4 separate regions of the Homo sapiens genome follow, and regions 1, 2 and 4 are each linked to region 3. Evidence: promoter capture Hi-C in 16 types of primary human blood cells and fetal thymus (Javierre and others, 2016). All regions are on one chromosome and are shown on one strand. The core of a region is centred on a gene start or on the middle of the fragment in contact, and the rest is flanking DNA. Distances in the headings are between cores, read along the strand shown. Region 1 holds the start of DCP1A (decapping mRNA 1A). Region 2 overlaps NR1D2 (nuclear receptor subfamily 1 group D member 2). Region 3 holds the start of EPM2AIP1 (EPM2A interacting protein 1). Region 4 overlaps RPL15 (ribosomal protein L15).

Region 1 (5,549 bases), core at 992-3,491, about 16 Mb after region 3:
CCTCGGCCTCCCAAAGTGCTGGGATTACAGGCGTGAGCCACTGCACCCGGCCGATCCCTTCCTTTTTAAAAGCAGAAAGATGAATAGCAGGGAACAAAGAAAGTGTCTAAGAAAAAAGAGCTTGGTGTACAAATATCAAAGAATTACACTTAAAAGAAGAAAAAAATGAGTGCATTTAGACGAGATCTCAAAGCTTTGTATCAAAATTTAGAAGAGTATTTGACAAATTCTTTTAAATTGGCATCAATGGAGAAAGGCAATCCTTATGAAGCAACTCAATACAAAAAAAAAAGGGAAAAGACCAGATATCAGTAATAACTCCTGCTGACTCCCTAAGCTTTAGAAAACAAGGGAAGGAACCTGCCCTTGTAAGAGTTAAGACCTTAGAGGAATCCAGGAAAACAAGTACCCCATGACTATCATATACTGTCAGTTGTCTTTAGGCCCCAAAAGCTGCCTAACAAAAAAGTTGCAATTTGCAAACCAATCTTAAAGATAATGAATTTTTGAATAAGTCAAAAATAAAAAATACGCCATCATGAATAATCCAAGCTTTCTAAAGAACTCTCAAATAAGACACTGTACATAATCCAGAACTTCTGTGGGTTGGGAAAGAGGACAGAACCAGTCATAAAAGACAACCACTCATGTAGTAATGAAAGAACAGAGGGATCGACCTCTCAATAACATTATTTTACAGAGCCAGTCTATGTATTGTCTTTTCCCCAAATATATATCTTTCTTTTTCTTTCTAATATGGGGGTAGGAAGAGAGACGCAGGCATCCATTTTAGACTCAATCATTATTATTTTGAAATTGCTTTGCTAGGCTGGTAATATAAATTCTAGTTCAGTTTATTCTGAATCACAGAAAGGCTCAGAGAAAAGAAAGAACCTGGTTAAGATTTCACAGCTAGGGAAAGATGAAAACTTGAAGGGTACTAGCAGGACGGTTCCAAAGACAAATGTACAAGAGAATTGAACCGTTTCACATTGTTCACCACTAGACTGTTAAAAACAAATATACATATTTTAAAAACTTACCTTCGATATACGAATAAGGTCCCTTCTATATCAGTCTTCTCCTATGAAAGACAATGACTCAATTAGTTTTTTTTCCCCATAATCAGACCCCAAATAGTCCCCATGGAGAAGTAATGCTTCACGTTTAAGATCAACTTGTTTCATTTCATCTATTATAAAATTAACCACTTTTGAACAGGTAAAGTCTCCCTCTCATTCCACAAATTGTGGTTACCATTTCTAATGTATCCTTTCAGTGCATAAGCATATGCAATATTTAATCCAGCAACATATCTGTATCTGCAGTATTTTTCTTTTTTAATTAGTAAAGGAGAAAATCATAGAATAAACCTTCACTTTTTATAGCTAAAATATTTTAGCCAGATTTCTTAACTTTAAAGCTAAGGTCCTGTATACTGCAATTTCTTCTCTTTTAAGTTTATCCAAGTTAATTTTAAAAAAGGAAAGGAATGAAACTTTCTTATAGGATACTTTGTTTCATCACTAGGGAGTTTTCGTACATTTTGACAACTAGCAAATTTTGTGGTTAAGAATTACTACCAAACAAAATCAGCTTGTTATTTTTAGAACTTGAAGAATCTTGAATACTGAAAGTATACCCTGCCTCAGTGTAATTATTGGAGGCCTTTACCATAGTTCATTTTCTGTGACAAGAGTGTATTTAGGTTTTAAACACAGTTCAGTGTTTTTTAAAAAATAAATAAGCTTATTAGTCTGCAATTTACAGCCTACAATGGACCTAAATATTTTACTGTAATCAACGCATTATTAACATTTTAAATGTTAGTCATATATTGAATGTGTTGGGATTAAAAAATTTAGAAAATTGATCATCTCGATTTCTTCCAGAAGTACTACCCTAGCTTAAATATCATTATTTTCCTTCCTAAGGATTCAGAGGCTTTTTCTTACCTTTAAAATGTTAGGTTATTACTATAAGAAACTGGTAATCAACTGTCTTACAGTAAAAGAAAATTTGCCCACCAAAAAACATCATGCAAAGTTACAACTCACTGTAAAATAATAAAGAGGGAAAAGATTTTTGTCATGCTCTATGTGCCAGGATCCAAATAAACAGTAGCAGCTTATTTTTCAATTCAGGTTATTATAGCTTGTATTTCATATTTAAAACAGAACTCCACAATGTAAAATTTTAAAATATTGAAAGCCTTTGTGAAAAACTAGGAAAACTCTAGCCCCAAGTCTTCACCATTTGTCGGCAATCCATATTTCAAAATTTATATATAGGCCAAGAAAAGAAAAAAGATTCATAAAATTTCAAACTAAGGCAATGTCTAAAATAGCTACATTTAAAAAACAATCTACAATTTTATTCCTTGTGGCTTCCCATATCTCCTTCTCTTCCAGGAGGCAAAGATAAACAACGTGATTATAAAAACTCTTCATCTGAATTAACTGTTCATAAATGCCAAATGATTTTCGATAAATTACTGATAAATATAATCTATGCAACTGTATTATAGGGTAAACGACATACTACGGTCATCTTCCAGAGTTCTGTCAGTTTAAGGATTTCGTATCTTATTGAAATGTGAACTCCAGTCATTGGTGAATTCAATCCAACAAGCATTTACGTATTACTTTCTAAGTGTAAAGCCTGTAGCTGAATGAGTTAATTAGGAAGGGTCAATTACAAGAAAGTGGGAAATTATGCTTTTTAAACAACTAACAAAGCTTCAAGCAGGGGCTAACAAGAATCAGTGAACACACTGAATGTGACTTTTCGGACCCTCCCCAGTGCACGAAAGCCAGAAAGTACTGAGTCCGAGGGGAGCATTCAGAGATGACATCACCAGCATCATAGATGGAACAAAACACATTTACAGGGTCTCTCTTGTTTGTACAAAGGTCTTCGGGGATCCAGTGAACACGGAAGCCCTTTTCCTAAGTGCCTTGGAATCTTTTCCGAAACTCTGTGTAGTTCGATTAAAGCCGGACCCACCCACCCCCTCCTTCCAAGAATCGAAACTAATTGGATTTTAAACTTTAAACCCAAATGACCTCTGCGACAGGGGCTCTCATTTACGTTTGCCAGGGGGAGAGGAGGAGTGTTTATTTTATAGATAATGTACATATAATTTATCTAATAATCCGCAAAGCCTCAAACACAAGCTTTCAGGCACCCTTTTGACCCCACCGGTCTTATAACTCCCAATGTATCTGCAAAGAAGGCAGGTCGCCCACGTCCCCAGACCCGACGCCAAGGGACTGATCCTGCTCCAATCCTCCCCTCCACTGGCTTTTCCTTGGGATGTCTCGAGCCACTTCTCTCACTCCTATCCCCCAATCCCAAGCGGACCCGACACCCCTCAGGCTCTGGCTAGGCTCTTGGCCAGACCCTGGCCTCGTCTCCACCGCCCTGGCCTCTTAGTGTGCCCCCCCACCCCACAGTAACCCGCGCGGCCCCTTTAAGAGACGGCAGCGGCCGGGTGGCCGTCCTCAGGGCCAGGCGGCACTCACCCACTGGTTGGCCTTGGGGCAGAAGGTGTACAGAGCGACCTGGCCCGTGAGGTCTGCGATGCTGGTGATATAGGGGTCGTGTTGCTTCAGGGCCGCTAGGCTCATCTCCTGCCCAGCTCGACTCAGCGCCTCCATCTTGAATCCCAGAGCCTAGCCCCTCTGGTGGGGGCGGAGTCGCGGACAGGAAAGTGCCATCGAGGCAAAATTCCCCCATCTGCGTCAGTCCCCTCAACTTCCGCCTCTACGCGGGCCTCGCGGCAGGGCGGTACGTCAGCCATTCTGGTCCGCCGCGCGCACGCTCCGGGCGCCGGGTTCCGGCGTTGTCAGGGTCCGCGGCCCTACGATGTGGGCGGTGTCCAAGGCTGCGTAGTGGAGCTTGCAGGCTGGAGCTCCGGCGCTTCCTTTCCCTGAGCTAAAACGACTGGGTCCTGGGATCTGGCCTCTAGCTCGCCTGCCGAGCTCTTTCCAGGCAAAGGTTGGAGACCGCCGAAGTGCCGGCCTCGCGGTGCGCTGTCTGGCAGGGCCCGGGGCCACAGAAGGAAAACATGTCTGTGGAATGTGGAAATGCGGGACTCTACCGGGCCCGTTTAGAGAGCACAGAAAAACATGGGGGAAAGGGAGAGGCGAGAAGCCCAGAAAATTACCCTAGGTCTCAGATATGGATGTGTCGACCTAAAAGGAAGAAGACTCTGGGGCAAAATAAATGCAAGCAGAGAGTTTATTTGGGCCAAGCTTGAGGATTGCACCCCAGGAGCATAGATTCAAGTTGCCTTGAATATATACACTGATTAGCAGAAGGTACAAGTGGATTTTTTTTCTTTTTTTTTGAGACGGAGTTTCACTCTTGTCGCCCAGGCTGAAGTGCAGTGGCGCGATCTCGACTCACTGCAACCTCCGCCTCCAAGGTTCAAGCGATTCTCCTGTCTCAGCGTCCCCAGTAGCTGGGATTACATGGGCGCGCCACCATGCCCTGATAATTTTTGTGTTTATAGTAGAGACGGGGTTTCGCCATGTTGGCCAGGCTAGTCTCGAACTCCTGACCTCAGGCGATCCACCCGCCTCTGCCTCCCAAAGTGCTGAGATTACAGGCTTGAGCCACCGCGCCCGGCCCTTTTCTTTTTTTCTTTTTGAAACGGAGTCTCGCTCTTTTGCCCAGGCAGGAGTGCCGTGGCACAATCTCAAGCTCACTGCAACCTCTGCCTCCAGGGTTCAAGCGATTCTCCTGCCTCAGCCTCCCAATTAGGTGGGATTACAGGCGCCCGCCACCACACCTGGCTAATTTTTTCTTTTTCTTTTTCTTTTTTTTGAAATGGAGTTTCGCTCTGTCGCCCAGACTGGAGTGCCGTGGCGCGATCTCAGCTCACTGCAACTTCTGCCTCCTGGGTTCAAGCGATTCTCCTGCGTCAGCCTCCAGAGTAGCCGGGATTACGGGCGCCCGCCACCACGCCCAGCTAATTTTTGTATTTTTTTTAGTAGTGACGAGGTTTCACCACATTGGCCAGGCTGGTTTTGAACTCCTGACCTCAGGTGATCTGCCCTCCTTGGCCTCCCAAAGTGCTGGGATTACAGGCGTGAGCCACTGCGTCTGACCCACATAAATATTTTTGTCCAGCCCTGGGAAGAGTCCATGAAGGGTTTAATTTGTCTTGCTTCATTTAAAGCATTAAGCAGATCACTCATTTCATTGGTAAGTGTCTGTTGAGCATTTTAAAGCGTTTGAAAGAGTTAGGCACTAGCTAACAAGTAAAACAAATCATGGAGACTATAGGGAGTTCTATCCCCGCCAGACTTCTTAAAAAGCAACATTTCTTTCGTTAAAAAGGTCATGGAGGCTGGGCGTGGTGGCTCATGCCTGTAATCCCAGCACTTTGGGAGGCTAAGGTGGGAAGACCGCCTGAGGTCAGGAGTTTGAGACCAGCCTGGACAATATGGTGAAACCCCGTCTCTACTAAAAATACAAAAATTAGCCGGGCGTGGTGGCGCACGCCTATAGTCCCAGCTGCTTGGGAGGCTGAGACAGGAGAA
Region 2 (5,147 bases), core at 2,298-4,797, about 13 Mb before region 3:
TAAAAAAAAATTAACCTGTGGGTCGCTGACTTTTCCTGAATCTGATCAAGAGAATTTGGCTTTATAAATATTTTTCTTGTCACATTTTGTTACATTGCAACGGAACAACAGGGTGCCCTTCCCTCCTTTTGTCTGCCCCAAATGATGAGGTAGATCTGAAGTGAGTGAGGTTATGGAAACAGCCAGCTTTTGTTTTATTTTTTGAGTTGCAATGCGCCTCTAAGAATCTTGCCTCGATAACAAATGTATTGTGAACTTTTCACCAAAAGTAAAAATAAAGTCACTTTCTAATTTTATTTACGTATTTTTAGAATTTACTTATTTTTTTTAACCTGTTGTCTCACAAAAATCTGGATCTAATTGTGTTTTGATTACCTAATCGGCCTACTTAGCCTTTGAGGGTATTTTTAAAATTTTATGAGTTTATCATAGAATTAAACTTCTACATGTTAGAATTCAGAGGTGATCAGGGTGAACCTCTTCTAACCCACCCTTTAGCATGAATTCTAATAGCTTTAGTAACCTCATAAGGGCTGGCTCAATTAGGAAGTTTTTCTCTGGTTTGAGCCCTCTTCCAATACTTCGCTGATCTAAATCTTGCCTCGTGGAGCAAGGCACATTATAAAAATTCCTCCGGATGAATGTTGACCATCCCCTTCCCCCTTCAGTTCTTCCATTTACAGTTCTCATCTCTTTGTCCTTGCCCAGCATTGTTTTTTCTGATCACTCATCATCCTTGTTGCCGTTTGGGATGGAGCACCCAGAAGTGAACAGGCTCTTGTGGAAGTGGTTGGATGATTATCAAGTTCCAAGTTGCCCTCTTTGTCTTGAATCCTGTTGCAAATGAATTCCCTGGCAGGCTTAGTATTTTTGGCATGTTGCTTTGCTGACTCACAGTAACCTTGCAGTCAACTAGGACCTTTCACGTGAACTATTATGAAGTTAGATTTCATTCATTGTGCAGATAATTGCATGACTTGAAGTGTAGGAATTTACAATGACCATTCTTAAAATTTCTCTCGTTCATTTGGCCTTAAGTTCAAAGCTGTTACAAGCTGTTACCCACCATGTTTACAGTTTCTGCTATCTATCAGTAAGCAGGAGGTCTAATAAGAATTGCCTTAAACTGGCCGGGCACAGTGGCTCACGCCTGTAATCCCAGCACTTTGGGAGGCTGAGCCGGGCGGATCCCCTGAGGTAAGGAGTTCGAGACCAGCCTGGCCAACATGGTGAAACCCCGTCTCTACTAAAAGGACAAAAATTAGCCGGGCGTGGTGGTGGGCTCCTGTAATCCCAGCTACTTATGAGGCTGAGCAGCAGAATAGCTTGAACCTGGGAGGTGAAGATTGCAGTGAGCCGACATCGCGCTACTGCACTCCAGCCTGGGCGACAAGAGCGAGACTCCCATCTCAAAAAAAAAAAAAAGCCTTTTAACTTTCGAATTTTTGTAAACATTGACCAAGGTGGGGCCAGATTCAGCGCTGTGTGGCACACCTCTACCCTTCCCTCTAGTTTGGTTATCAGTTGACAAACATTCAACCAGTGATCCTGTAATCTTACTGTCCTTCGTGACATCTCTATGTCTCCTCGCCCCATGAGTAACAAGTGAAAACAGTGGAGTAAAAGACTTGGAAAAAAATTGGAGAGGTGGAGCAAAGAAATCTTTCCTTGGAGCAAGGAAAAGCAAGAATTGAAGAAAAGTTGCTCTACTGGTCAGTAGGGTTAAGAGATTCAAAAGGTAGTGTGGAAATAACCTACAAAGAAACCACTGGATCCTTAACACACATTAAAAAATGAGGTGAATAATGGGTAGGGAGGATTAGTTACTTTGGTTTGAACCATTCTGTTGGAACTCTTCTAGTATAATGATGACAAAAAAATAATCATCAGCTTCTTACTCTGTGCCAGGCCTTTTACATGTGTTCCTCATGTTAATTCCATGAAGGAAGGTGCCGTTGCCACCATCTTAATGATGCGGGGCTAAGTAAATTGAAGCTAAATAACTTACTCAGGCAAGTAGTAGAGCCAGAATTTGAATCCACAAAATTTACTTGGGAACACAAACTGTTAACTACTGTGCTATAATGTACTTTAGCCTGCATAATATTTGAAGATTTATACGCAACTTGGTGGTCCTGTCTTCTTGAGGGTGAAGGAGATACTGCATGTGTATGGATCCCCACTCAATTTGCAGTGATATATGTAGGTTATAGCTAGTGGAAAAGGATAGTCATCTGCAGGGCCTCCCAGTTTCATCAGTCCTCTCTTTAGTCATGCTGGCTTATTTCCAGACATTAGATTACACCTTGACCTCCCTTCTCCAGTAATTTACATGGAGATAAAAATAATGTCTATTTTATAAAATAAGACCGATTTGGCTGGGCATGGTGGCTCATGCCTGTAATCCTAGCAATCTGGGAGGCTGAGATGGGCAGATCACCTGAGGTCAGGAGTTCGAGACCAGCCTGGCTAACATGTGAAACCCTGTCTCTACTAAAAATACAAAAATTAGCCGGGTGTGGTGGCGGGTGCCTGTAATCCCAGCTACTTGGGAGACTGAGGCAGGAGAATCGCTTGAACCGAGGAGGCGGAGGTGGCAGTGAGTCGAGATCACACCATTGCACTCCATCCTGGGTGACAGAGCGAAACTCCGTCTGAAAAAAAAAAACAACAAAAAACACACCATTTATTTTTGTGTCACCCTATTTAAAAAATGTCTCTTTTGATGATTTAAACAGTCTTCAATTCCCCACTTAGATATTGCAACCTTGGATGTGTTTGCCCCTATTGATTTCTGCCCTCTTTAGTATGATCCTCAGCAGTCACAATCATGTGTGTGAAACATTGCTCCTAATAACATAGGTGTTTCCCCAGTTGGCCTATAAGGCATTTTAGGGAAAGGACCATGCTGTTCTCTGGAGCCCTGACACCTAGGACACAATTGGAATTTTAGTGCTTCAGTTAGATCTACTCTACCACCCTTGGAGTAGAAATTATTTATAACACTTTTAAAATGAGGGAAACTAAAGCTTCTTGGTGATAAAATGTTTTGTTCTAAGTCACAAGGCAGAAAAGTACAGTCATGACTTGAAGTCAAACATAATCTCCAGGATGGTGGACAGAGGAAGTGTGAGGGTTTTGATGATGGACAAGTGTAGAAAATGGGTAAGAAGACCCCAATATATGCAGGAATATCAGTGCTTCCTAGCAGTACAAAATTGGATATTGACTTAAGGCTTGTCTGAAGTTGACCACTGGGTAAGCCCTAGCCTGGGAACCTGGCCCAGGTCCAGGGTCCCTTTCAACTGAAAATAGAGAAGACTGCTTCAGCTAATTTTAGCTCAGGGTTTCAAAGAGGTACATACTGCCTGTTTCTTGGAGGTGTTGGGACTTGCTGGTTTGGGGATTTTTACTCTTCTTACTTTATCATCAAAAACAGTGTATGAAAAAAGCACTTATGAATGCCATTTCATTTCAGTCTTGTAATAAGTGGCAGATATTCCAATTTTATAGAAGACCACTCAGGTTTAGAAAGATTGAAAGTGACTTGCTTGCTCAGGTCTTCTCACCAAATAAGTTTGTACTCTGGAATTGGACAACCTTGACTTTAAACTTTGGCCTGCCACTTAGTGGCTGACTTATCCTCTCTGAGCTCCTTGTTTAAAAAATGATTTGATGAAAGTTAATTCACAGAGTTCTTCTTGTGAGGATGAAATTGTGTCATTTTATTCCTGACATCCAGTAGGTACTTGGTGACTTGTAGTTTCACTTTCCTTTCTTCATTAGGTTGAGGAACTACTAGATGTACTCCTTTTCTTCTAAGAAATTAAAATTTAACCCATTTGGGTTGCTATCAGTCAGGTTCATAGATGGGTGTCTAGTAGCAAGAATAGATGCCAAGACAACTAAATCAATATTGAAGGTCTTGCTAGGAGAATGCAGCTACTTCTAGATGGGTCTTCTTTGATTTTCTGGTGCCTGGCACAGATGCTTGTTTTCTTAAGACAGGAATTGGATCTTCGCTGGATTGATAATAGCCCAGTAGTTTCTTTTAGGTTGGATATTGAAGCTTTTGCAAAGGAAATTGTTTTTTGGTTAATTAATTACGATACAGTCCATTGCCCCGTCAGTGCTTGCAACCAATTTTTAAGCCATCTGCATAGCTCTAATTTCTTTTCTTTTCTCTTTCTTTTTCTTTTTTTTTTTTTTTTTTTGAGATGGAGTTTTCACTCTTGTTGCCCAGGCTGGAGTGCAATGGTGCCATCTCGGCTCACCGCAACCTCCGCCTCCCGGGTTCAAGTGATTCTCCTGTCTCAGCCTCCTGAGGAGCTGGGATTACAGGCATGCGCCACCACACCTGGCTAATTTTGTATTTTTAGTAGAGATGGGGTTTCTCCATGTTGGTCAGGCTGGTCTTGGACTCCCGACCTCAGGTGATCCGCCTGCCTCGGCCTCCCAAAGTGCTGAGGTTACAGGCGTGAGCCACTGTGCCCGGCCAGCTCTAATTTCTAAAAGTTTATTTCTTAGCTAAGGTAGTCAGCAGATCTTGTGAACATAAATGACTGAAAATGGGGGCCCTAGGAAAGTCTTACTTCCAAGGAAAAACATCACTTTCTTATCTTTTATTTTCCTGAGATGTTAGATGTGAATTTAGTACTTAAGACACTATTTTAGAGAAGACAAATAGCTGTGAGATCTTCCTTTGGAATTTCATTGAGGACTAAGAATATTTGTCTTTGTAAAGTGTCCTATTGTGAGTGGAGACATCTGTGAAAAAGTAGCAGTGTGCTAATACCTGGAATTTTTAATGTGGACTTAAGATCTCTAAAGTTATATAAAGACAGCACAATGGTTTTATCCAGTAACATGACACTGGCTAGGTTTCTAGGTTAAGTTGGTTTCTCTTTGGATTCACAGGGTATTAATGATATTCTGGCGGTTGTATCGATGAAATCATCAATCTTTAAAACTATGGGCCAATTTGTGTTTGAATTCACTGATTGTAGCCATTTTGAAACTTCAATGTGCAAATAATTGCTTGGAGAGCTTGTTAAAATTGCACATTCCTGAGGATGTGTTCTCGTCTGGGCAGGGCCTTGGAAACATGTATTCTGAAAAAGCACCAGCTAGTTTTGAGGATATGTATT
Region 3 (5,647 bases), core at 2,598-5,097:
TTTCTGTTTTTTTTTTTCGGTTTTCCACTATGTTGTTTCTCTAGATATGTAAGCTTACTCTATTAACCAAAATCTCAGCTTGACCATTCTTGATAAGTACCTAATCGACATGTAACTTTTTTTCTGCCTTAAATATGTATAACAGGACAGAGCCCTTAAATCTGATTCAATTATTAATTCCTGATTTACAAGTGCTATGGTGAGCTAACAGAACTTATCAATGCCTTTATTGCACTTTACTAGCCAAATTTAGAAGGTTGGAATTAGTCTCTCCTATCTAGTATTCTGTCAGTTTGCCCAGCTTGTACTTTTAATTTTGCTTCTAATGGTAATCTGCCCTATCCCTTGAAATAAAATAATCTACATTTTGGGAGGGCTAATTCTTCATTGTGCCAGGCTGTCCCATGCACTGCAGGGGTGAGTGTCTTTAGGCTTAAATGCCAACAGAAGCCCCTAGTAAATATGACAACCAAAAAAGTGCCCCTACACATTTCTCAGCATCCTCTGGAATGACAGGTTACTGCCTCTAGTTGAAAGCCACTGGCACAACTTTGGTTTTTAAGCTCTTATGCCATTTATTTTAATTGCCCAGACATCAATTCCACCTAAATTCTTAGTCATAGCCTGGTTCCTTGAATTTGCTGGATTAGTAACCACAGATTAAGGTGTTTCAATAGTTAAGACAGGACTTTGGAACAAGAGTTTTTAAATTGTATAATACTTGAGAGGATCTATGAATATAAATTGGGTCCTGTTTATAATTAGTTTTACATAATGAACTTTAAGATTGCCTTTTCATGGTGAACAGAAGTTTGGAAATTACTGTTTTGGCACAAAGCAGATTATCTTAGTAGAAATACAGAATTACTGCAATCTGTGAATAAGACTGCTTTTAAATATTTCTACTTGTGTGCTATCTTACATATAGAATGTGTACGACAGTTCCAAATTTTAGAATAAATCCATTTCTAGCATCTAACAAAATCTGATACTGTATCATTTTAAAACAAAGTGTTTACTTTAGGCAGGATTTTTTAAAATAAAGCAGCAATACCCACGCAGATAAGACAAAAAAGCTAAAATATCTCACACCTCCTAATCCTGGAGTGCAATCTTTTTTCCTCATCGTTTTTGATAGGGCCAAACTTGTGTCTACAGTAAAAAAAAAAAAAAAAAGAATTACTAACTGGCAACCATTAAGATTCTATACTTACCATAGTCCTTTAATAGGCAAGCTGATAAAATAGCCCCCAGTTATTAAAAAAAAAATCCAAGGAAAACCCCCAATAATTAGTCTTATCTCCAAATTGCATGAAGTCTCCTATATCTGAAACTTAAAAATGATTCTAATGACTTCCTCTATCAGTAATGTGTTATCACTGAGGTGGGTGATGGGGAGGGAAGAGGGAAGAAATCTGTCAGTATTACCTTCGAACTCAGAAATGTTTAAAAAAAAGTCTCAAACATTTTGATGGTTAGACAAAACACCTCCACTGTTATGTATGGGCTTCCTTTTTGGAAACTTATGAACTTGCTATGTGAGCTTCTGCAAATTGGTTCAAAAGCACATTTAAGGAGTTGATAATTTAAGACTATATGAATCAGAATTTTAACACTCCATTAAAATAAGAGCTGAAATTTTTGGCATTTATCTTCAGAACACCTAAAAAACAGACTGCAAATTCAACTCACATTAATACTAAATCTCTTTAAAATTAACTATATCATAAAAGACAATGACTTTGTCACTAAACTAAGTTTTAAAAAAGGTGGCATTCTCATGTTTCAGTCCCATGCTGCCATTTGAGATGAAAAAAAAGGCAACTGTCAGAATTTTAATTGTGATCAGTTTGGACGGCTGGTACTTGGTACTTTCTCACAATCCAAATTAGTAAACTTGAAAACTCAAACCAATTTTTGCTTTTAGAATTAAATTCTTGTTGAGTTTTTCAATCTTGTACTACAAAGCCTTATGGATTAGATTCATTTCTTTCTCTCACAAGGTCATCCCAACCGGGCTCCATTTCAGTTGTGGCAACCCGAAACAGGGCTTGGAGATGCTCATCTGTTAATGGCTGACTCAAAGTGTGTTGGTTTCGAGTCAAATATGAAAAAGCCTTTTCACAGATTTGGTTACTATCAAACAAGGATGCCACCTTACAGGCAACCCCTTTGATAATTGGGTAGGATTCAGCAGACAATCCAGCATAAAACTGCCCCAAGTCTTTGATTCTGTATTCATTCCAAAGATTAGTGTTTGCCTGAAGTTTTGTTAGCTCCACCCTCACTGAAATAGGTGCATATTCAGGTTTAAAGTTAAATGGATTTGAAAAAAGTTCTAAGTCCTTTTTAATGAACCTGAGGTCCTTAAAATGTCTCTCAAATTCTTTTTGGAGACGACAGATCACCATTTGATACCTATCAGGATCAAATATTTTTTCATCTTCCTTATTTTGCTGTTTTAGCTCATCAACAACTTCTCTGAGGGCAGGAAAGTCTGTTAGATTTTTTTCCTCAATATGTCTTTGAAATAAATTCAGCTTAACTTCGAAAGTACAAATATGGTCAAAGGCAGCAGCAGCAAAGACTTTACTAACTCGTAATTCTTCACTGAGTTCTCGAAGGTGTTCCATAATGTCCACCAAGAAGCCAAAGTCACAAAGCCATTGTTTGTCTGAGAAGTGGACTGTTGTTGCCCCTACTGAAACCAAGAACGCTTCCATTTCTTTTCTTAGAGAGAATATTAGTTTTAAAGTTTTCCCTCTCCTAAGCCAATTGTTCAGACATCGTCCATTAACCCTTTCACCATGCTCTGATTCAGATTCCGTTAGTAAAGTCTGAAATTCAGGTCGCCTAACGCCTCTGGTCTTAATCAAAACTATCCATTCGGATATGGTATTTATGATCTGATTAACATCTACATCATAGGAGCTCAACAGTTCCAAGTGAAGAAATCCTGAATAATGAATGACATTCCAACAGTTGGGGCTTACGGCCTTTTCTCTCATGTATGAGACGAGTCCTGAGTTCTCACCAATCATCCTCAAAGTATGGGTCGTGGTCAGTCCAACCATTCTCTGCAAGCTAAGCCCTGCTGTCTGCAGGGACTCTAGGATTGCCGACATGAGCGCACCAACACTGAAATGATGAGTCAGGTTGATTATGGTCAGAAGATCTTCTTGCACCTCCAACTCAGGGCCTACACCGCGGATAAAGACCAGGAGGTAGTTCTCATAGGCCACAAAAGCCTGGTCGTCCAAGGCAAGAGAATAGGCTTTAAAGTCCCTGGCTCGGTTAAAAAGCTGGTTGCGTAGATTCCTGTCAATGCTCAGGATCCTCTGCCTTGTGATATCTGGAGATAAGTCAACGCCTTGCAGGACGCTTACATGCTCGGGCAGTACCTCTCTCAGCAACACCTCCATGCACTGGTATACAAAGTCCCCCTCACCCCAGCCGCGACCCTTCAAGGCCAAGAGGCGGCAGAGCCCGAGGCCTGCACGAGCAGCTCTCTCTTCAGGAGTGAAGGAGGCCACGGGCAAGTCGCCCTGACGCAGACGCTCCACCAGGGCCGCGCGCTCGCCGTCCGCCACATACCGCTCGTAGTATTCGTGCTCAGCCTCGTAGTGGCGCCTGACGTCGCGTTCGCGGGTAGCTACGATGAGGCGGCGACAGACCAGGCACAGGGCCCCATCGCCCTCCGGAGGCTCCACCACCAAATAACGCTGGGTCCACTCGGGCCGGAAAACTAGAGCCTCGTCGACTTCCATCTTGCTTCTTTTGGGCGTCATCCACATTCTGCGGGAGGCCACAAGAGCAGGGCCAACGTTAGAAAGGCCGCAAGGGGAGAGGAGGAGCCTGAGAAGCGCCAAGCACCTCCTCCGCTCTGCGCCAGATCACCTCAGCAGAGGCACACAAGCCCGGTTCCGGCATCTCTGCTCCTATTGGCTGGATATTTCGTATTCCCCGAGCTCCTAAAAACGAACCAATAGGAAGAGCGGACAGCGATCTCTAACGCGCAAGCGCATATCCTTCTAGGTAGCGGGCAGTAGCCGCTTCAGGGAGGGACGAAGAGACCCAGCAACCCACAGAGTTGAGAAATTTGACTGGCATTCAAGCTGTCCAATCAATAGCTGCCGCTGAAGGGTGGGGCTGGATGGCGTAAGCTACAGCTGAAGGAAGAACGTGAGCACGAGGCACTGAGGTGATTGGCTGAAGGCACTTCCGTTGAGCATCTAGACGTTTCCTTGGCTCTTCTGGCGCCAAAATGTCGTTCGTGGCAGGGGTTATTCGGCGGCTGGACGAGACAGTGGTGAACCGCATCGCGGCGGGGGAAGTTATCCAGCGGCCAGCTAATGCTATCAAAGAGATGATTGAGAACTGGTACGGAGGGAGTCGAGCCGGGCTCACTTAAGGGCTACGACTTAACGGGCCGCGTCACTCAATGGCGCGGACACGCCTCTTTGCCCGGGCAGAGGCATGTACAGCGCATGCCCACAACGGCGGAGGCCGCCGGGTTCCCTGACGTGCCAGTCAGGCCTTCTCCTTTTCCGCAGACCGTGTGTTTCTTTACCGCTCTCCCCCGAGACCTTTTAAGGGTTGTTTGGAGTGTAAGTGGAGGAATATACGTAGTGTTGTCTTAATGGTACCGTTAACTAAGTAAGGAAGCCACTTAATTTAAAATTATGTATGCAGAACATGCGAAGTTAAAAGATGTATAAAAGCTTAAGATGGGGAGAAAAACCTTTTTTCAGAGGGTACTGTGTTACTGTTTTCTTGCTTTTCATTCATTCCAGAAATCATCTGTTCACATCCAAAGGCACAATTCATTTTGAGTTTCTTTCAAAACAAATCGTTTGTAGTTTTAGGACAGGCTGATGCACTTTGGGCTTGACTTCTGATTACCCTATTGTTAAATTAGTGACCCCTCTTAGTGTTTTCCTGTCCTTTATTTCGGAGGACGCACTTCGAAGATACCAGATTTTATGGGTCATCCTTGGATTTTGAAGCTTATAACTGTGACAAAAAATGTGAAGGGAAGAGATTTGAAACATGTGGAAGGAAAAGTGAGTGCAGACTATAAACTTCCAAAAAGACAAGCCCAAAATACACCTAAACGTTATGTCAGATTATTTTGTTAAAATCAGTTGTTAGTGACGTCCGTACGTTAATAGAAAAAAGAATGCTTCAGTTTGGAGTGGTAGGTTTCTAGAGGGATTTATTGTGAAAGTATAAACTATTCAGGGCAATGGGACTGAGAGAACAGTGGGTAGAAAGGACCACTGAAGGAAAGGAAGAGAATTGGAAGGTAGATGAAAGAAGGAGCAAGAACCTGGGGATGTTTTTTCCTTTTCACTTGTAATAGTAGTAACAGAAGCAATGGCAGACTGGCTTTTGTTTCTACTGTGTTAGAATGAATTGACAGGACAACTGGGCCTATTATTGTACTGTGCCAGAATACTGTAAAACAAAACTAAACATACTAGCTTGGTGGCTTGTAATTAATTACTTAAGTGGAGATTTTTATTTTTTTTTTATTTTTTTTTTAGACGGAGTCTCACTTTGTCACCCAGGCTGGAGTGCAGTGGCGCGATCTCAGCTGACTGCAACCTCCTCCTCACAGGTTCAAGGGAGATTCTCCTGCCTCAGC
Region 4 (5,060 bases), core at 55-2,554, about 13 Mb before region 3:
GAAGAGACCAAATGTGGCCTGCACAGCCTAAAATATATACTAAATATTTTTAAAGCTAAACGTTGCTGAGCTCTCAGTTGTATGGAAAAAGATAAGGTCCCCAAACCCTAAATTTTGTTACCCAGATATTAACATATTCCTGCCCTAGTCAGGAATGGAGTATTAAGAGGGAATGATGTGTTTCAGTCTATGTGTGTTGTTTTAGCAAGTCTACATTATCTCATTACACTTGTGATAGTCTAGGGAGAAATGCTTAGTAAATAACTTGAGTAGTAAAAGACTCTTGTCTGGTGGTGAACTAGAGTTGAGAATTAAAATTCTTTCTGACTTGCTGCTATAGGCAATGTGGGAGATTGACCTTGGGCCTTTTTTCCTATTCTAGGAGCGAGCTGGACGCCACTGTGGGGCTCTGAGAGTCCTGAATTCTTACTGGGTTGGTGAAGATTCCACATACAAATTTTTTGAGGTTATCCTCATTGATCCATTCCATAAAGCTATCAGAAGAAATCCTGACACCCAGTGGATCACCAAACCAGTCCACAAGCACAGGGAGATGCGTGGGCTGACATCTGCAGGCCGAAAGAGCCGTGGCCTTGGAAAGGGCCACAAGTTCCACCACACTATTGGTGGCTCTCGCCGGGCAGCTTGGAGAAGGCGCAATACTCTCCAGCTCCACCGTTACCGCTAATATAAGTAAAGTTTGTAAAATTCATACTTAATAAACAATTTAGGACAGTCATGTCTGCTTACAGGTGTTATTTGTCTGTTAAAACTAGTCTGCAGATGTTTCTTGAATGCTTTGTCAAATTAAGAAAGTTAAAGTGCAATAATGTTTGAAGACAATAAGTGGTGGTGTATCTTGTTTCTAATAAGATAAACTTTTTTGTCTTTGCTTTATCTTATTAGGGAGTTGTATGTCAGTGTATAAAACATACTGTGTGGTATAACAGGCTTAATAAATTCTTTAAAAGGAGAGAACTGAAACTAGCCCTGTAGATTTGTCTGGTGCATGTGATGAAACCTGCAGCTTTATCGGAGTGATGGCAATGCTCTGCTGGTTTATTTTCAAGTGGCTGCGTTTTTTTTAGTTTGGCAGGTGTAGACTTTTTAAGTTGGGCTTTAGAAAATCTGGGTTAGCCTGAAGAAAATTGCCTCAGCCTCCACAGTACCATTTTAAATTCACATAAAAGGTGAAAGCTCCTGGTTCAGTGCCATGGCTTCATGGCATTCAGTGATTAGTGGTAATGGTAAACACTGGTGTGTTTTGAAGTTGAATGTGCGATAAAATTATTAGCCTTAAGATTGGTAAGCTAGCAATGAATGCTAGGGTGGGAAGCTGGTGAGCCAGTGGCCATTAGATAAATACCTTTCAAGTGTGAGCTTAGACGTCAACCCTAAAATACTTAACCGTAATGCTAATTGTGATCATTATGAATCCCTTCAGTCACATTAGGGGGAAAGTAGTTGGCTATAAGTACGTCATTCTTAGTCCAGTCAGTCTTAAAAACATCTTGGGTTACCCACTCTGTCCACTCCCATAGGCTACAGAAAAAGTCACAAGCGCATGGTTTCCAACCATATGTGTTTTCTGCAGTTATTTCTCTTGTTCTGGCCAAACAACCCTAAAAATCCTTACCATTCCACAAAGTTGGACCATCACTTGTGCACCCACTTTGACTATGAGTATACCACCACATTGCATTTCTGTTTGCACCATGTCTTCCAGGAGACTAGACTACTGTTGTCCAGGGTCAATTTGAGTGTAAAGAAAATGTAGACAAGGAATTGCCCAATTTTAAATTCTGACTTTGCTGACTTAATTTAAATGCTCGTTCTGAACCAATTTTCTCCTATCTTCTCTAGGGGTTTCAAAAGACTCAGTTAATTGATTTCCAGGAAGTACTCATAGCAAGTTCATAAAAGTTCTTGAGACCTAAATTTCTTCACAAAAAAAGAAAAGATCTTAAGTCATACATTTTAATTGTGTAGAGGTTGTTCAACTGAAGGAATAAATGTCTATTAAACTAAAACAAATGGACCTTCTGTTATTTTTTGTCATCTTACAGTGCTAATGTACTTTAAAGCAAACCAAATGCCCTAACCAGCAAAAAGGCATCAAAATGTGATTATAGAAATAATATAATTTGAGATAGCATAAAATGTACTTATTCTCTCAGTTCTTTGATCATTGCATGAATTAGGTTTTTATCTAAAACTGTTCAGCTGGGTGTGGTGGCTCAGGCCTGTAATCCTGGCACTTTGGGAGACAAGCTGGAGGATTTGTTGAGGCCAGCCTGGGCAGCATAGTGAGACCTAAAAACAAAAAAAATCCTTAAACATGACTAATTTGGGAAGGAGAGAAAGGGTTCGGGCCAAAGGTCAGCATTGTCTCTACAAGAAAACCTTGTTCCTGTCCTTGCTACCCAACAGTTTTATCTCCACACAGTAGTCCAAGGGATCCTATTAAATTGATCATGGCACTCCCGTGCAAAAAAATCAAAAGTCCTCATGATAGCTTTCATGATCTTCCCACTTTATGTGTGACCTCATGTCCTACTGCAGTCCACACCCCAGGCTCCTTGCTGTTTGTTCTTCAAATACACCAAACACTTCCTAATGCCTTTATGATGGGAAAGCTTTACTCCAATATTAAGGGTCACTTTATTAGCTATACCCTGACCGCCCCACAAGCTGTTCCCATTTGCTTTACTATTTCTATATTGGCATGTAATTCACACAGCAACATTGATTATTGAGTTTTTTTTTTTTTTTTTTTTTTTCCAGATGGAGTCTCACTCTCACTCAGGTGGGAGTGCAGTGGGGCAATCACGGCTCACTGCAACCTCTGTCTCCCGGGTTTGAGCAATTCTTCTGCCTCGGCCTCCCAAATAGCCAGGACTACAGGCGCACACTGCCATGCCCAGCTAAGTTTTGTATTTTTAGTAGAGACTGGGTTTCACTATGTTGGCCAGGCTGGTCTCGAACTCCTGACCTCAAGTGATCCACCTGCCTTGGCCTCCCAAAGTGCTGGGATTACAGGCGTGAGCCACCACCCCCAGCCCAATTTTTATTTTTTGTACAGACAGGATCTCACTATGTTGCCCAGGTTGGTCTCAAACTACTGGCCTCAAGCAATCCTGCCTTGGCCTCCCAAAGTGCTGGAATTATAGGAATGAGCCACCACACCGGGCCCAAATTTACTTTAGTAATAACAACAATTGGCTGGGTGCGGTGGCTCACGCCTGCAATCCCAACACTTTCGGTAACCAAGGTGGGCTTGAGCTCATGAGTTAGAGAGCAGCCTGAGCAACGTGGTGAGAGCCCATCTCACAAAAAATAACAAATCAGCTGGGCATGGTGTTGCACGCCTGTAGTCTCCGAAATCACACCACTGCACTCCCATCTTGGGTGATAGAGCCAGAACTTGTCTCAAAAATAACAATTGGTTTCTTACAATCCCAAAAGGTGCAGTTACTAGTATTAATCCTTTTTTGCCAATGAGGAAACACAAAGATGAAGCAACTTGCTCAAAGTCATACAGTGACAGTCTGAATTCAAATCCTATACACTTAAAGTTTATTTGTTTTGTTTTGGTTTTTTTTGAGATGGAGTCTCACTGTGTCGCAAGGCTGGAGTGCAGTGGCACGATCTCAGCTCACTGCAACCCGGGTTCAAGCGATTCTCCTGCCTCAGCCTCCCGAGTAGCTGGGACTACAGGCACGCACCACCACACCCAGCTAATTTTTGTATTTTTAGTAGAGACGGTTTCACCATGTTGGCCAGGATGGTCTCGAGCTCCTGACCTCAGGTGATCCTCCCGCCTTGGCCTCCCAAAGTGCCGGGATTACAGGTGTCAGCCACTGCACGTGGCCAACTTAAAGTTTTTGATAGATAATACATTAACGTTAAAAATTCAAAAGATAAGTATAGGCTCTACAGTACAAACCCTTCTGCCTCCTAGTTCCTCTCCCTGGAGGCAAGGTGATCAGTTTAACAATATTTTTTTATTTTGAGACAGGGTCTCACTGTTGCCCAGGCTGGAGTGTAGTGGCGCGTTCACAACTTACTGTAGCCTCAACCTCCTGGCTCAAGCAATCCTCCCACCTCAGCCTGTCGAGTAGCTGGAACCACAGGTGCACACCACCATGCCAGGCTAATTTTTGTATTTTTTGTAGAGACAGGGTTTCACCATGTTGTTCAGGCTGGTCTCAAAGTCCTGGGCTCAAGCAATCTTCCTGTCTCTGCTTCCCAAAGTGCTGGGATTACAGATGTGGGCCACGGTGCCTGGCCTACATATGTATTTTTTCCTTTTCTTCCCCAAGTGGTAGGATATGATACACATTGTTGATTTTTTTGTTTAGTTATGTATCTCAGAGCTTATTCTTTATCAGCTCATGAGGAACTTCATTTTTTTTTTTTTTTTTGAGATGTAGTTTTGCTCTTATAGCCCAGGTTGGAGTACAGTAACACAATCTTGGCTCGCAGCAACTTCTGCCTCCCAGGTTCAAGCGATTCTCCTGCCTCAGCCTCCGAGTAGCTAGGATTACAGGTGCCTGCCACTACATCCAGCTATTTTTGTATTTTCAGTAGAGACGGGGTTTCACCATTTTGGCCAAGCTGGTCTCGAACTCCTGACCTCAGGTGATCCGCCCATCTCAGCCTCCCAAAGTAGTGGGATTACAGGCATGAGCAACCGTGCCCGGCTGGAACTTCATTCTTTTGGTATAACTGCATGGTATCCCATCATGTGGATGTACCATGATTCATTGGATGTGGACCCTCCTGATGGACATTTAAATTTCTTCCAATCTGTTGCTATTACAAAAAGAAAAATGTGTGCATACATCTTTATTCATCTGTAGAATAAATTCTTAGAAGTAGAATGGCAGAGTTAAAAATTGTATGTATATAATTTTTTATAGATATTGCCAAATTGTCTTCCATAAAAGTTGAACCAATTTTCACTACCACCAGCAAAGTAGGAGAGGACTTGTTTATCCACACCCTCTTTAATGTATGTAATCAAATTTTGGGATATCTGCCAGTCTGTTAGGGGGAAA

The links. Contacts are between HindIII fragments. The CHiCAGO score rates a contact against its expected background, and 5 or more counts as called.
Region 1: a contact is called between a fragment that was not itself captured here and the fragment with the promoter of EPM2AIP1 in region 3, in 1 of 17 cell types (naive CD4 T cells). The highest score is 7.6, in naive CD4 T cells.
Region 2: a fragment that was not itself captured here is called in contact with the fragment with the promoter of EPM2AIP1 in region 3 in 4 of 17 cell types (naive CD8 T cells, total CD8 T cells, total CD4 T cells and 1 more); the score reaches 9.1 in naive CD8 T cells.
Region 4: a fragment that was not itself captured here is called in contact with the fragment with the promoter of EPM2AIP1 in region 3 in 2 of 17 cell types (naive CD8 T cells and non-activated CD4 T cells); the score reaches 12.6 in naive CD8 T cells.

Annotation. Positions count from the first base shown.
Region 1 is chr3:53,343,859-53,349,407 of GRCh38, forward strand. DCP1A (decapping mRNA 1A) reads right to left here and starts at 3,685. Exons shown (of 10, transcript NM_018403.7): 1 at 3,525-3,685; 2 at 1,044-1,084. The coding sequence starts at 3,659. RefSeq lists enhancers at 2,693-3,283, 3,284-3,874, 3,410-4,179. The HindIII fragment of the contact is 990 bases long and covers 1,747-2,736 here.
Region 2 is chr3:23,946,708-23,951,854 of GRCh38, forward strand. The region is part of intron 1 of NR1D2 (nuclear receptor subfamily 1 group D member 2); the gene reads left to right. Among named protein-coding and RNA genes, the nearest start is that of NR1D2, 4.0 kb to the left of the region's middle. RefSeq lists a silencer at 2,031-2,325. The HindIII fragment of the contact is 1,040 bases long and covers 3,028-4,067 here.
Region 3 is chr3:36,989,284-36,994,930 of GRCh38, forward strand. It overlaps EPM2AIP1 (EPM2A interacting protein 1), which reads right to left and starts at 3,848. Exons shown (of 1, transcript NM_014805.4): 1 at 1-3,848. The coding sequence starts at 3,794. The coding sequence ends at 1,971. It overlaps MLH1 (mutL homolog 1), which reads left to right and starts at 4,235. Exons shown (of 19, transcript NM_000249.4): 1 at 4,235-4,380. The coding sequence starts at 4,265. RefSeq lists a silencer at 1,963-2,012 and enhancers at 3,019-3,098, 3,129-3,448, 3,569-3,918, 4,289-4,508, 4,425-4,936. The HindIII fragment of the contact is 4,668 bases long and covers 52-4,719 here.
Region 4 is chr3:23,918,814-23,923,873 of GRCh38, forward strand. It overlaps RPL15 (ribosomal protein L15), which reads left to right. Exons shown (of 4, transcript NM_002948.5): 4 at 383-2,176. The coding sequence ends at 688. It also overlaps a transcript of NKIRAS1 not described here. Among named protein-coding and RNA genes, the nearest start is that of RPL15, 4.2 kb to the left of the region's middle. The HindIII fragment of the contact is 2,659 bases long and covers 1-2,634 here.